5 separate regions of the Homo sapiens genome follow, and all the other regions are linked to region 5. Evidence: promoter capture Hi-C in human tissues and cell types (Jung and others, 2019). All regions are on one chromosome and are shown on one strand. The core of a region is centred on a gene start or on the middle of the fragment in contact, and the rest is flanking DNA. Distances in the headings are between cores, read along the strand shown.

Region 1 (2,700 bases), core at 24-2,523, 59 kb before region 5:
CAGCCTGGCTGCATCTAGCCTCCTGCCTGGCCCCTGGAACAGGCATTGCCCCCCTTCCCTGCCCAGCCAGCCCTCCCAGCTGGTCCCTGCCCTTGGCCACACACCCATTATCTTTCCTGAGCCAGTGCTCCAAACACAGGGCCTTGGAACTTGCAGAAAGGTTACCAGCCCCACCCCTTATGGGGACATCTGCCCTCTGCTCACCTCATTTTGCTCAGGAATGATCTGGGCTGATGCCCAGGGCAAGGGCACCTCCCCTGCAATATCCCAGGCCGCAGAACTCAGCTATCCGAAAGCGGCAAGTTTGCAATGGCAAACTATTCTTGGCTCCAACCTGCTCGCTGCTGCTAATTTCATGCCCCTGTGATCCAGGTAACGCTCTGCTGCCTTGAGCTGCCACCCCCAGGCTTGAATCGCTTTTCCTCGCCCGCCCGGTAGGAGCCCAGCTGCCTCTGCTGCTGCTTCCTGGAGGTGGGGGCTGCACAAAGCTGCCTCGCAGAAGCCACTCAGCAGCACGGACACTGAGTCTGCCGCAGCTCGTGACTAATTTGCTGCACTTATTTCAAAGTGCCCAAATGGCATTCAGGGAAGAGAAAGCTTAACCAGGGTCTGCCAGAGATAAACGGGCTCATTTCGGGGCCTCCCTGCCCGAAGAAACCTCTTTACCTGGACTCTGAGCCTGGAATTGAATTCTTCCAGAAGAGACCCTTAGCACGGAGCCTCTCAGTGTGGCGGAGGAGAGGAAATGTGGCCCGTCATAAAATGGGCCTCACATCTGGCCAGCTGGCTCTGGTGGGCTTTTAAATTGTGTTTGAAGAGCATCTCTCCCCTTTCCTGGTGTTCGCAAACTGGGTCAGTGTAGCAAATGGAAATGAGTTTCCTTCTCACCATAGCGAGCAACTCAAGTGCCCCCCTGCCCAGGCCAGCAGTGGCTCATCCACATTCACCCACCATATGGGGGTACCCTGGCGCCTGGCACCCCTGGGCCAGGGCCTGTCCACAGTCTGGGTGAGGAACCCCCATGCCCACCCTGGGCCAGTCTGGGTGAGGCCCCCATGCCCACTCTGGGGCTCTTTGCAGGGGTTGCAGAGTAAGGCGAGAGCTTGGAAGCCTGCCCCATGCTGCCCACCCACAGACACTCTTTAACATGGTCTTTGCTTAGCTGCCAACCATGTCCGTCAATTTTGGGTAACTGACAGAGGTGGGGGCTTTTCTCTTAATCTTTTTCTTTTCTTTTCTTTTTAAAACTACGAAGACCCATAGGCCTCTGGAAATGCTGAGGGGAATGGGCGGTGGGATTTGAGAGAAAAGATTAGCTAATGTATTCCTTTACTCTTGTCTACCACTGCAGAAAGAGGAGAAAGAAATCAAACCCTGGCCGGGCACCATGGCTCAGCACCTGTAATCCCAACACTTTGGGAGGTCAAAGCAGGTGGATCACCTGAGGTCGGGAGCTCAAGACCATCCTGGCTAACATGGTGAAACACTGTCTCTACTAAAAATACAAAATTAGCTGCGTGTGGTATTGTACGCCTGTAATCCCAGCTACTCGGGAGGCTGAGGTGGGAGAATTGCTTGAACCCAGGAGGCGGAGGTTGCAGTCAGCCAGGATCATGCCACTGCACTCCAGCCTGAGCGACAGAGCGAGACTCTGTCTCGAAAAAAAAGAAAAAAAAATCAAACTCTGTCATTTGCTGGCTTGGGCAGGTCACCTGCACCTTAGGGCCAGGTAGAAGAAAGACACTGCCCTCCCTGAGAGGAACGTGTCTCACATTCCTGCTTGCTGCTGGAAGGCATGTGGCTGCCAGGCCCAGCATCTGAGGCTTCCTGGTGATGCACCGCGACCCCAGTGATAGTGTTTGGGCTTGTGCCTCCAGGAGACAGACAACCTCAGCTAGAGCAGCTTATACATTTGTAGGGGGATGATAAATATGTCTCCACCCGGTCTCTGCCCTGCTCTGCAGCAAAAGATGCTGCCACCAGCACTCCCAATGTGGACCTCTGTGTACCTCTGGGAAATTCCTCTACCTCTGTGAGCCTCAGGCTGCTTATCTGTAAAATGAGAGCGATTCCAGCCCTGCCTCGCCCTCACTGGCTGTGGTAAGAGCACATGGGCTGGGGTGTGTGCAGGCCCTCTGGAAGCTGTGCTGCTTGCATGTCAGAGTTCCCTGGCATTCTGCAGAGCTCCCACTTCCCCACCTGGGTTAACTGACTTTGATGCGATTACTTAGAGACTGGATGTTGAGTCCCACACCCTGCCTGAGCTCCAGGTCATTGCAGGGTGCAGATAACGCTAGGGAGATAGTGGTGCGCAGGGAGATCAGATCTCACATTCAGGGAGCACAGCTATCCCTCTGTTCCTCAGAGCTGGGCCTCTCCCACGTGGGTTTGAGAATTCAGAGGTGACTGATGGGCCTCTCTGCCATTAGCGCTCTGGGGGTTGAGTGCCTTGGCTGCTTGAGGTTCTGCCAGCCCTCCTGTGGATGGGATGGACAACACAGTGTGGTTTGCTTCAGCTCAGGAGGGGCTGTTGGTGCTAAGGAAGCCTCAGGTTGCTTTCAACAGATGAGCTGCGCTGGCATCCTCACTGGTGGGGAAGCATCCCTTCATGCTTTTGTGCCAGCCGTTCTGTCCTGTTGGGAATGTTTCTCTCCCCACTGGCACCCATACCTGCCATATCTGTCTGACATGCTTCCCCCA
Region 2 (2,700 bases), core at 42-2,541, 35 kb after region 5:
TCACATTTTCTTTAAAGAGAGGGAGGGGCCCATGTGCTAATATGAACATACAGAACTTCTGGAATGAGACCTTGAGCGTTGCCTCTGGGAAGGAGTTGTGGGATGGGGAGACAGGAGATTCGCTTCCTGCTGTACACCCTTTCTTTTTAGTTATTTACTACGTCCGTACACTGCTCCCCAAAAGAATAAAGTAAAATAAATCTTTTGCTGTATGATATTTTTAAGAGTCGGTGAGGGGAACTCAGAGACACCAGGCTTCATATGGGGGAGGCTGATGTCTGTGGCTCCCCACCCTGGGGGTCTCAGGTCGTGCCCTGCCTTCCTGCCCCAGGCACCACTTCATGGAAGCTTCTGGGAGGGATCCAGGGGAGGGTGCAAGAACAGAATAGCCATGAGGTGGTCTTGTCTACTCTTTCCATCACAGCAGCCTCCCCGGCAGTGGCCTGGATAGTGTGGGCTTTGAAGCGTGGTCATCGGTGACCTACAAGGGCTTGGCCATTAGCAGCCCTAATGGTGTCATCTGCAGGCGCCTTCTTGCACGCACGAACCTCTCTGTGTGTAGCAGTGGTGAATAATCACCAAATTGTATTTGATTTCTGCAGCGCATTTCTGTATTTCTATTCAAAGTTGAGTGCATCTGATTTTATGGGAATTCATAACAGTTCAAACTAAATCGTGGCACCATGCTGTGAAAATCTCTCACTCCCGAGAAACTGAAACGCTGCCCAGATGTCCCCTCCTGCCCTTTTCCTTCCCCCTGCTCTATTCTCTCATGTCCCCCCCTGCCTGCTAGGCCAGGAGGCGTTGCCTGTTGGCAGGCAGCAGTGTGCCCTCTGCCCTTGTACCTCCTGACCGGGCTGCAGGGAGAGATGGGAGATGGTCACGGTGGGGGCCCTGCCCCGGGAGTTAGGCCCAGAACTGCCTATTTCCCAAAAGAGGGGAGTGTGCCTTGCTCCAGCAGAGACATGGAATGTGCCTTTCCAGTCTAGGACACCAGGCTTCAACGGGCTTCCTCTTAGGTTTTTTTCTGGGATTCAGAGGTGTTTGGTGAAACCCCTACAGGTCATGGGGAGCTTTGCAAGGAACCTGGCTTCCTCCAACCTGGGCAAAGGAGTGGGAACAGGAAGGAGGGGCCCTCCAGGGTTGTGCAGTGGGGTGGGGGCATTTTGTGGATGCATCTCCTGGAGGGGGTGGCAGAACGCAATTGTGTGTGTGTGAGTGTGTGCACATGAGTGTGTTTGAGAATGTGTGTGTGTGCATGTGTTTGAGAGTGTGTGTGTGCATGAGTGTGTTTGAGAGTGTGTGTGTGAGTGTGTGAATGTGTGGGTGTGTGTTTGAAAAAGTGTGTGTGCGGTGTGTGAGTGTGAGAGTCTGGGTGTGTGTTTGAGAGTGTGTGAGTTGTGTGGTGTGTGTTTGTGTGTGTGTGAGTGTGTGGGTGAGTGTGTGTTTGAGAGCGTGTGTGTGAGAGCATGTGAGTGTGTAGGTGTGTGTTTGAGAGTGTGTGTGTGCAGTGTGTGGGTGAGTGTGAGTGTGTGGGTGAGTGTGTGAGAGAGTGTGTGTGTGTGCTTTCAGGCACAAGTTTTCTTTCACACTGTTGGTCCTCACCTGGGGAAAGGAGAACCCTCAGTATGGGGCCAAGTGCCAGCCTTGGGCCTTGTCTCCGAGCCTGGGTTTTAGCCCATTCTGCTGCTCGTGGCTGCCTGCAGGCAGAGCATGAGGGAGCCCTCCTGGTGATGGGAGCAATCCGACCTCCTCGCCTAGCGAGGAAAGACCCAGTGGGGCTGGACTCGGGATGGAGAGGCAGCGCCTCCCGAGCTGGGACCCACGGCCCAGGATAAAAGGAGCTCCATGTCCCTAGAAACGTCTGGTAGCAGCCCAGGGAGGGGTGTCAGCCAGAGGACCGCCGAGGACCCTCCCAGCTCCCAGAGTCTCCCCTGGTGTTTGCACCTGGGACTCTGGCCTTCAGGGAGGCTCAGGACAGTGCGGGAGAGAACGTCTAATCAGGGTTGTCCATGTGTTCATAGGCTGTGGCAAGATTTTGGTAGGGTGGCCATAAATGAGGCCACTGATGTCAACACGTTGAATGCTTATTGCAGAAGATAGGCGGAATGCAGAAACTAGCTAGAAGACAATAAAACTTCCCATAACCTCACCACTCACACAACACCCTGGCTTCACTCCACAGTGCTGTATGCGCACACTCCCCTGCATACATTCACACACTAGGAATCCAAACACCATCCCCTGTTGCTTCCTAGGGACATCCCACAGTTGAGCCAGTCCCCTTTTGGGTATCTATCATAAGTTACGCAGCAGTGGGCATCCCTGTGGCTTGGTGTCCACGTACAGCTATGGCAATTTCCTCAGCTGAGGTTCAGGAGGTGGAATTGCTGGGCCACAGGGTATATGCATTTTCAGGCTCTTTGGACAATTTTCAAAGACGGACTGATTCTCTGTCCAGTTGCCTCAGCTCAGGGGTTTGGGAGCCCTGCTGATCTTGCCCCTCTGGTGGCGGTAAGCACCACCTCCCTGCTGGTGGCTCCCACACTTCTGCTTCCAGCCCATCCTGGACCTTGGCTGAGCATGTCCAGCTGCTGACCCACTGTTGCTACTTGGTTGTCAACAGCCATGCCAGACTCGCCATGTCTCAAATGAACTTCCGATCTTGTCCCTCAGCCAGCTCCACCTGCAGCCTCTCCT
Region 3 (2,700 bases), core at 172-2,671, 53 kb after region 5:
GGGGGCTCAGTGAGCTGGAAGATAGCTATGCTCTTCTCTCTAGGCAGGGGGTGGGTGCGGAGCTGCCTCAGCGCCCTCCCAGCCTCTTCTCTTCTTTTTGCATCAGTATGGGAACAGCACAGCTTTCACCTGAAAGTCAGGAGCCCAACATCTGTTTCTCGCTGTGTAACCTTGGGCACAGCACTGCACCTCTCTGGGCCTCTATCTCCTCATTTCAACAATGAGTGGGCATTGGAAAGATGAGCCCAGTGGACTTTGGCTGGGGCAGCCTGGCTGGCCCCAGTTGTTTCTAGGTTCTCAGAGGAGACCAGCCTGGAGCCCTCTGCTGGGTGCTGGCACCCACTTGTCCCTGGGCCAAGCAGATGGTGGGTATGGACTCACATGGACGTGTGGGCTCCATGGGTGCAGGCCTCCCACCAGCAGGCCAGGGAGAGGGGGAGGTTGAAATGGCTTGTCCAGGGGACTGGCCTTTTTCCTGCCATGGGGAGTGGGGTGGTCTAGAGACTTGACTTTGAGACTTGGCTCTCATGAACTGTTCACTCTTTGACTCAGGGTTCCAGTCACCAAAATGGGTGACTGGATCCCTCACTGGATTGTTGGGAAGTTTACATACAATACCACCACCTCTAAAGCTTCCAACCCAGGAATGTTTTGTTTTTACTAAAGGGAGAGCCCATGTGTGGCCCAGGGATGGCAGATTGGGCTGTCCTACAAGCCATGGGCTTTCAGGGTGGACAAACACACAGATAAGCTGGGTCCAGGGTGGTGCTCAGTGCCAGTGGCAAGAGGCAGAGCCCAAGCCAGGCTGACCGTGTCGGCTCACCAGAGGTTGGAGTTGTAAGCAGATCAAACTTCCAGCTCGAGGCCTCATTACCTGGCTTCTCCTTAGACACCCAGTGATGGTCAGCTCGTGGGCCTACAAGGCAGCTCACTCTGTGCTGTGGGACGGTTCCAGGAAGAAAAAATTCTTCCTAAGATTAACAGGAAACCTGCCTCCCTGGAACTACCCATTGGGTCTAATTCTGATTGCTGGAGCCTCATAGATTAAAAATGATAATATAACACATATGACATACTATATATATAGATATATAGATATATCATAAATTATTATAACAACAGCATTTATTGACTGTTCAAGGCAGTGTCCTAAGTGTTTTTATGCATTAATTCATTTTAAAAATTCCTTTTAAGAATCAGAGGTAGAGTTGGGCTACAGGGTCTATCTATATGTAGCTTCTGTGAATGTGCTTTCCTGGGTTAGAGACTGAGACTTTTATCCACCCCCAACCTTCTGAGCCTTCTCGTTTTGTATGCTCTTGCCTGCGTTCCAACAGGGGGCCAGTGGCCTGGGAGCAGAATGGGAGGGCACAGCATGGCCATCTGAAATCCCTCACAGAGCCTACGTGTTCATTACTATCTCCTCACCTATCTCAGGCTCCAGTTCCCTCTGTGTAATGTTCTTTTTGAAGACCGTCTACCAGCCGGAGAAGACAGAAGCCAAATGAAGTCATTAACTAGTGCTGCCTTCTCCTGGTCTGTTCACATCGCCCTGCTTCCCCAGACAGGGCCCTGAATCCCTGCATGTCTTGCTCCAGACGTTAATATCAGTTGTTGGCAGCAGAGCCTGGAATGCGTGGAGTGGCGTGAGGGCAGATCAGCAGCTCAGTCCCTGGTCAGGCTGGTTGGCCTCACCCACACCTTGGCCCTGCCTATCAGCCCTGAATGGTCACATGATGCCTTTAGCATGAGGGACAGGTGCTGCAGGGGTGCTGTCTCCCACTTAACCTCCTGAATCTACTTTTTTTTTTTTTTTTTTTTTGAGACGGAGTCTCACTCTGTCACCCAGGCTGGAGTGCAGTGGCACAATCTTGGCTCACTGCAGCCTCCACCTCCCGGGTTCCAGTGATTCTCCTGCCTCAGCCTCCTGGGTAGCTGGGATTACAGGCACACGCCACCACTCCCAGCTAATTTTTTTATGTTTTTAGTAGAGACGGGGTTTCACCACGTTGTCCAGGCTGGTCTCAAACTCCCGACCTCAGGTGATCCACCCACCTCAGCCTCCCAAAGTGCTAGGATTACAGGCGTGAGCCACCGCGTCTTGCCCTGAATCTACTTGAAATGCCCCACCAGCCTTGCTGATGTCGAGATCACCAACCACCTCTGTGTTGCTAAATCCCATCATTTCTTCCCAGACCTTGTGGCCTTCAATTGGTTGATCTTTTTCTCCTCCAGGACACCACCCGCCCCTTCCCAGCCTCTCTGCTGGTTCCTCCCGCACCTCTTAGCATCAGAGGGCCCCAGGGCTCAGCTCTTGTCTCTCCTCTCCTCATTCTCATTCCCGTGGTGGTCCCATCTAGCCTCCTGGCTTGGACACTACCTATATGCTGACAACTCCTAGCTTTATATTTTCTGTCTGGGCTGCTCTCAGGGAAGACTCCAGACTCCTATAGCCACCTCTCTACTCAACATTTCTGCCTGATGTCTAAAGGGACATTTTCATCCTCAGTTTGTCCAAAGCTGGAATCCTGACCTCCCCCAGATTCCTGCCTCACCGGCAGCCTTCCCCATCTCAGCTGTGGCTCCATCCTGCCAGTTGCCCAGGCCAAAAGCTGGGACTCATTCCTGTGCCTCTTTTTCTCCCTCCCCTCCCCTCCCATCCCTTAGGGCATCCTGTTGGCTCAGTCTCCAAAATCATCC
Region 4 (2,700 bases), core at 21-2,520, 38 kb before region 5:
ACAAAGCTAAGCAGTTTATGTGTATATTTTTGTTTATGATTTATGACAATCTGTGCAGCTGTGATCGTATTTTCTCACTTGAGAGCTGGGGAAACTGAAGCTTTGGAGAGTTCACAAGCATGCCCCAGGTCACTCATCTGGTGAGTCACGGCAGGACTGGAGCTGTTTCTGGAGTAGCCTCTCCCCACCGGATCATGCTGCATCCCTGGCTCGCAACTGCAAGGGCCTTATCTCATCATTCATTCTCCCTGTCCTCATGAGGAGAGTCACTTCGTTAACCCCTAGAACCCCCAGCCTTTCAGCAGAACAGCGATTCCCCCTGGGCTGGTAGTGAGCCACTTTCCCCAGCTAAAGGATTCTTCACCGCTTCAGCAGTCCTCAGGGTTCTGAGGATAGGAGGGGGCTGATCTGCTTGAGCTATGCAGTATCCCAGGCACCTACAGACCCCTGGGCTGCCCAGTCCTCCCCGCCCCTTCAGGGCTGTCATCAGAAATTGCCTAGCTGTGGCTCCAGGCTGACGTCCCCGTGCTTCCTGTGCCCTGGCTGGCTCTCCATCCCCCAGCATCCTGTACACTGCCTGGCACCTCAGCGTTGTGCCTTAAATGATTCTCCAGCCACTGAATGAACAGAGGAACAGGAGGGTCGCCCCACTCCTTGTGTTGTTTGCTCGTGTCCTGTTTCTGGTGCTTTGGGTGGGTCTGTTTCCAGCAGGGTAGCCAACCTTCCTTGCTTGCCTAGAGCCAAAGGAGCTCCCAGGACAAGGGACTGTAAGTATTAAAACCAGGACAATTTCAGGCAAACCAGGATGGTTGGTCAGCCTAGCTCCTAGTCTCATTTGGGCAGGCCAGAGTCCCTTCCAGCTGAGCATGTGAGACAGAGAACACCCAGGACCATGCTATCCTGTAGACGCTTCTATTTCTTTTTCTTTTTCTTTTTTTGTGATGGAGTCTCACTCTGTCGCCCAGGTTGGAGTGCAGTGGCACAATCACGGCTCACGGCAGCCTTTATCTCCAGGGCTCAAGCGATCCTCAAGTTAGCCTCCCGAGTAGCTGGGACAACAGGCATGGGCTGCCACGCCCAGCTAATTTTTGTATTTTTTGTAGAGACAGAGTTTCACCGTGTTGGCCAGGCTGGTCTCAAACTCCTGACCTCAAGTGATCCACCCGCCTCAGCCTCCCAAAGTGCTGGGATTGATTACAGGCACGAGCCACTGTGCCTGGACCGAAGCTTCTGTTTCTTTGCTGATTAAAACTAGGGTCTGGATCTGTGGGCTCACAGACACTTCTCTAAGGATGGGGCTCATGGAGAGAGCTGTGCTCCCAGGTCTGCTTGGACTAAATCTTCCTGAAAAGGCAAGCTCGCCCGTCCTACATTTGGGAGAGTGAGGCGATGCAGGAAAATTTGGAAGAACTTAGGAGGAAGAGCTGCGACCAGAGGAACTTGGTGGGGAATTTCCTGAGAGCAGACTTAAGGCAAGGACCTGACGACGCTGAATAGAGGGGAAGTAAGAATATTCCTTTCCGTAGATAGCGATTGTGAAACCAGACAGGGCTTTTGGCTGAAGCACCCCGTTCACCGTCACTGAAGAGTGATTCTGGATTCTGGGGACGGGCCCTCCCACACACCCACTCACCCACATGGGTGTTATCTGCAGGTCCTCAGGGTGGGAGGACTGACTGGGGCTTCAAAACTTCTTGGCTGTTTGAAACCTCCATTTTACAGAGGAGGAAGCAGGCCCAGAGAGGGGTGTGCCTGGCCCAAGATCACACAGGGAGGCAGAGACAAGGCTGAAACCAGAACCAAGTTACTGCTTACACACACACCCCTACACCAACTCCCTCTGTTTGAGCTGCATTAATACAGTCAGCCTGTGTCTCCTGGTTTTCAGATACCTGGGACCCAGAGAGGTTGAGTGGCTCAGGCAAGGTCACACAGTAAGGGAAAGTGATCTAAGCTTTCTTATTGGTCAGAGTGCAGAAGTTGGAAAGATTAATGATATTCAGTGTTGAGGATAAGGAAGACACTTCTATAGGCTGCTTCTCAGTTCTTTCAACAGTTATGTGTTGAAGGGCTACTCCGTGCCTGAAGATTTAGCTGGAAACAGTCAAATGTGGTCCTTGCTCCAGGAACCTGTCTTCTTCTTCTTTTTTTTTTTTTTTTTTTTTTTTTTTGAGACGGAATCTTACTCTGTCACCTAGGCTGGAGTGCAGTGATGCGGTCTTGGCTCACTGCAATGTCCATCTCCCGAGTTTAGGTGATTCTCCTGCCTCAGCCTCCTGAGTAGCTGGGACTACAGTTGCACACCACCATGCCTGGCTAATTTTTGTATTTTTAGTAGAGGTGGGGTTTCACCATTGGGTCAGGCTGGTCTTGAACTCCTAACCTCAAGTGACCCGCCCGCCTTGGCCTCCCAAAGTGCTGGGATTACAAGGATGACAAGAACCTGTCTTCTACCGAAGGAGACACATGATAAACAAGTAAACCAATGCAATTACTGTAGATTGTGGTTAGTTCTTTTGAAGGAACTAAACAGGTGCCTCTGGTAGAGATGAACAGGGCAAGTTACTTCAGTTAGGGTGGGTAAATGGTGCTGGGCAGAGTTAAACTGGTAGTACCTATTAGGAGAGCAGTTTATCAGTAGCTATCAAAATGTTAAAGGTATAAACCTTTTAATCCAGTAATTTCCTCTTCTAGAAATCT
Region 5 (2,700 bases), core at 176-2,675:
CTCGGCCAGGCGCCATTAAAGCACTCTTCTTCCTAGCACTGATTCTGGCTGTAATTTTACCTGCTTATGTGTTTCATTGATGAATGTCTGGTTCCCCTACTAGAGAAGCTTCATGGGGCACAAAGACCAAGCCTGTTTTGTTCTCCATCCTATTCCTAGAAACTATTTCAGTTAGCTAGCACATAGCAGTGACTGTGAATGAATGAATGAATAATGAATGAGCGAATGGTAAGGAACTGGAGCTTTGGAACCAGATAGATTCTGGGTTCAATACCCGACTCCACCACAGGGGCAAGTCCCCAACCTCCTAAAGCCTGTTTCTCACTGTAAAACTGGGATAATGGCAGGGCCCACCAGAAAGACTTTATTGAAGATAGAATGAGTTGAGGCCCAGAAAGTCTCAGCCCAGAGCCTGGCTCCAGGCAGGTACTGTCAATGTACTGACTGGAACAGTGACAGCTCGGAAATCCTGTCATGTGAGAAATAGTTTTAAAAAATCAGAATGCTTAGCCCCGGGGAAGTAAAGATCAAAGGTAGGGGATAAACCTCTTCCATTACCTGCATATGGACCCTTTCTTGATCCAGCTGTCTCAGAAAGCCATAAAGTCTCTGTCCCTATAGGTGTGCAAAAAGGAGCCGGGAGACCATGACTCGGGCACTGCAGACGGAGCTCCCGCAGGGGTGAGGGCGCCTAAGTGACCTCACGGGTCTCCTCCAACCCGGGGTCCTCCATTTCTAAGCACTTGGAGGCCTCTTGAGCTCTAGTGAGGGAGGAGGCGCAGATGGGAGCGCACGAGTCGGGTGGGCAAAGGCAGCTGGTTGGAGAGAAGCGTAGGCCAAGAGGCCCCAAGGACTAGAGGGACTGCTCAGCGACTCTGGGAGCAGAGAGGGGGCGCTTAAAGCCAACAGATGGCGCGGGCTCACCTAGGCCGAGCGCCCGCTCGCCCGCCCGGGCTTCCCGGGAGCGTTACCTCGCTCTGCCTGAGGCGCGGGGCGGACGAGACGCTGGGGGCCCCATCCCCCTGCGCGCCCCTCTGCGGGACGGCTGGCGGCCTGGCGGGGCACTGCTCTGTCTCGCACCTGGGGCCTCTTCCGCGGGCTTCCTCCCTGCCCCTTTGGGGGATTCGTAGAGTTGCCACAGCAGCCGGTGCCATGACATCGGCAGAGGGCAGCTTCGCCAGCACTGAAATATTCATGCCCTGAGCGCCCGGCGGGGCTCGGCGCCGCTCCCGGGGGTCCGGGCGGGGCCGGGCGGGAGCTCGGGGGTCCTGGCGGCCTGAGGGGTGGGGGAGCGCCGAGCGCGGGCGGGCGGGCGGGGGCCGGGCGAGGCGGGAGGTGAGGGAGGGAGCTGCGGGAGGCGGGGTCTGGACGGCGGGGGCCGAGCGGGGCGGGGGCCGAGCGGGGCGGGGGAAGCAAGGGAAAGTTGATCGCGGACTTGAGCGGCGGCGGCGGCTCGGGAGAGAGGGACGCGGGCTGCAGGCGCGATGCTTGGCTAGAGGACGCGTCCGACGGCGGCCGGACGCTGAGGTGGTCGGGGCTAGTCAGCCCGGCCTGGGCATGGAGCGCGGGGTGGCAGAGCCTCTGGACGTTTGGGGCGCGCCCAGTCCGAGCCCCCGGCGCGCCTGAAGTTGCGAGCGGCGAGCGGCGAGCGGCGAGCGGCCCGCGGAGACCCAGGAGCTGCCGGCACGCCGCGGATGAGCCTTCGCGCCGGCGGGAAGACGCGGCGGTGGCCAGGGCCAGAGCAGGCGGCCCGCGGGGGCCGATCCGGCGGAGAGCAGAGCCCGAGGCGAGGCGAGGCGCGGCGCCGCTGCACACACGCACACGGTACCCGGAGCCACGCACCGCCTCTTCCCTCCTCGCTTCCCTCTCCTTCCCCTCGCCGTTCGCCCGCCGCGCGGCGGGGAAGTTGGTGGTGACCGCGGCTGCCGAACCACTTGTTCCCAGCGCGGCCATCGCCCGTGGCGGGCGCTCGCGGCATCCTTCGGTCCCAGGCCCCTGGCCCTAGCCTCGCGCCCCGCTCCGAGCTCCCCGACGCGCGGCAACTTTGATTCCTGGGAACTCGAATTCCATTCGCGTTGGCCTTGGGAGGACAGGCATCCCATCCCCCATCCCCGGTCCTGGGACCGCGAACATTTGGGGGCTTTGCTCTCGGCGCTACGGAGAGGGTCCAGGTCTGGGGTGGAGAGATTTTCGAGAGTGGAGCGCGTTGGGATCCAATCCCCTCCCCTTCTGAGCCCTGGGTCCCCATTTGGACAGTGGGGATGGGGTGGGGCGCACCCCTACTGCGGGCTGGGCAGAGGCGCTGAGGGGAACTAAAGGCACGTAGTTCTCCCCTCCCCTCATCAAGTCCCTGTGCCCGCGGGAGACCCCAGGGGACTTACACATCCTCCCAAATTCGGTCCAGCTATGGGAAGACGCGCCCCTCGAGGAGCCGGGAGCCTTTTGCGGCTCTCGCTTCGCCTTCCTGGCCCTGGAACTGGTCCGCTACGAGCGGTGCTGGCTGCCCCCAGGAGCTGGCACCCGGGAGCACTGCCCCTCATCTCCACCGTAGGTCAGCCCAGGACTCGAGCAGAGCCCGCGTGTTCCAAGGCAGTGACGGCGCCAGCCGGCGGGGACTCTGCCTGGCTTTCTCGGAGCGGGCACCTAGAGAGGCTGCCTCCGTGCTGTGAGCGGAGATCCGATGCCAGCCGCCGCCCCACT

What was found. Contacts are between HindIII fragments. The study calls those that stand out against the background at their distance.
Region 1: a contact is called between a fragment that was not itself captured here and the fragment with the promoter of CDH23 in region 5, in 1 of the 25 tissues and cell types used here (aorta).
Region 2: a fragment that was not itself captured here is called in contact with the fragment with the promoter of CDH23 in region 5 in 1 of the 25 tissues and cell types used here (adrenal gland).
Region 3: a fragment that was not itself captured here is called in contact with the fragment with the promoter of CDH23 in region 5 in 1 of the 25 tissues and cell types used here (IMR-90 fibroblasts).
Region 4: a contact is called between a fragment that was not itself captured here and the fragment with the promoter of CDH23 in region 5, in 11 of the 25 tissues and cell types used here (H1 embryonic stem cells, IMR-90 fibroblasts, aorta and 8 more).

The regions. Positions count from the first base shown.
Region 1 is chr10:71,337,099-71,339,798 of GRCh38, forward strand. The region is part of intron 2 of SLC29A3 (solute carrier family 29 member 3); the gene reads left to right. Among named protein-coding and RNA genes, the nearest start is that of SLC29A3, 19 kb to the left of the region's middle. The HindIII fragment of the contact is 3,390 bases long and covers 1-2,700 here.
Region 2 is chr10:71,430,990-71,433,689 of GRCh38, forward strand. All of the region lies in intron 1 of CDH23 (cadherin related 23), which reads left to right. Among named protein-coding and RNA genes, the nearest start is that of CDH23, 35 kb to the left of the region's middle. The HindIII fragment of the contact is 6,567 bases long and covers 1-2,700 here.
Region 3 is chr10:71,448,462-71,451,161 of GRCh38, forward strand. All of the region lies in intron 3 of CDH23 (cadherin related 23), which reads left to right. Among named protein-coding and RNA genes, the nearest start is that of CDH23, 53 kb to the left of the region's middle. The HindIII fragment of the contact is 3,738 bases long and covers 1-2,700 here.
Region 4 is chr10:71,357,991-71,360,690 of GRCh38, forward strand. All of the region lies in intron 5 of SLC29A3 (solute carrier family 29 member 3), which reads left to right. Among named protein-coding and RNA genes, the nearest start is that of CDH23, 38 kb to the right of the region's middle. RefSeq lists a silencer at 1,595-1,684. The HindIII fragment of the contact is 3,004 bases long and covers 1-2,700 here.
Region 5 is chr10:71,395,495-71,398,194 of GRCh38, forward strand. It overlaps CDH23 (cadherin related 23), which reads left to right and starts at 1,426. Exons shown (of 70, transcript NM_022124.6): 1 at 1,426-1,824. RefSeq lists a silencer at 945-1,034 and an enhancer at 1,718-2,229. The HindIII fragment of the contact is 12,378 bases long and covers 1-2,700 here.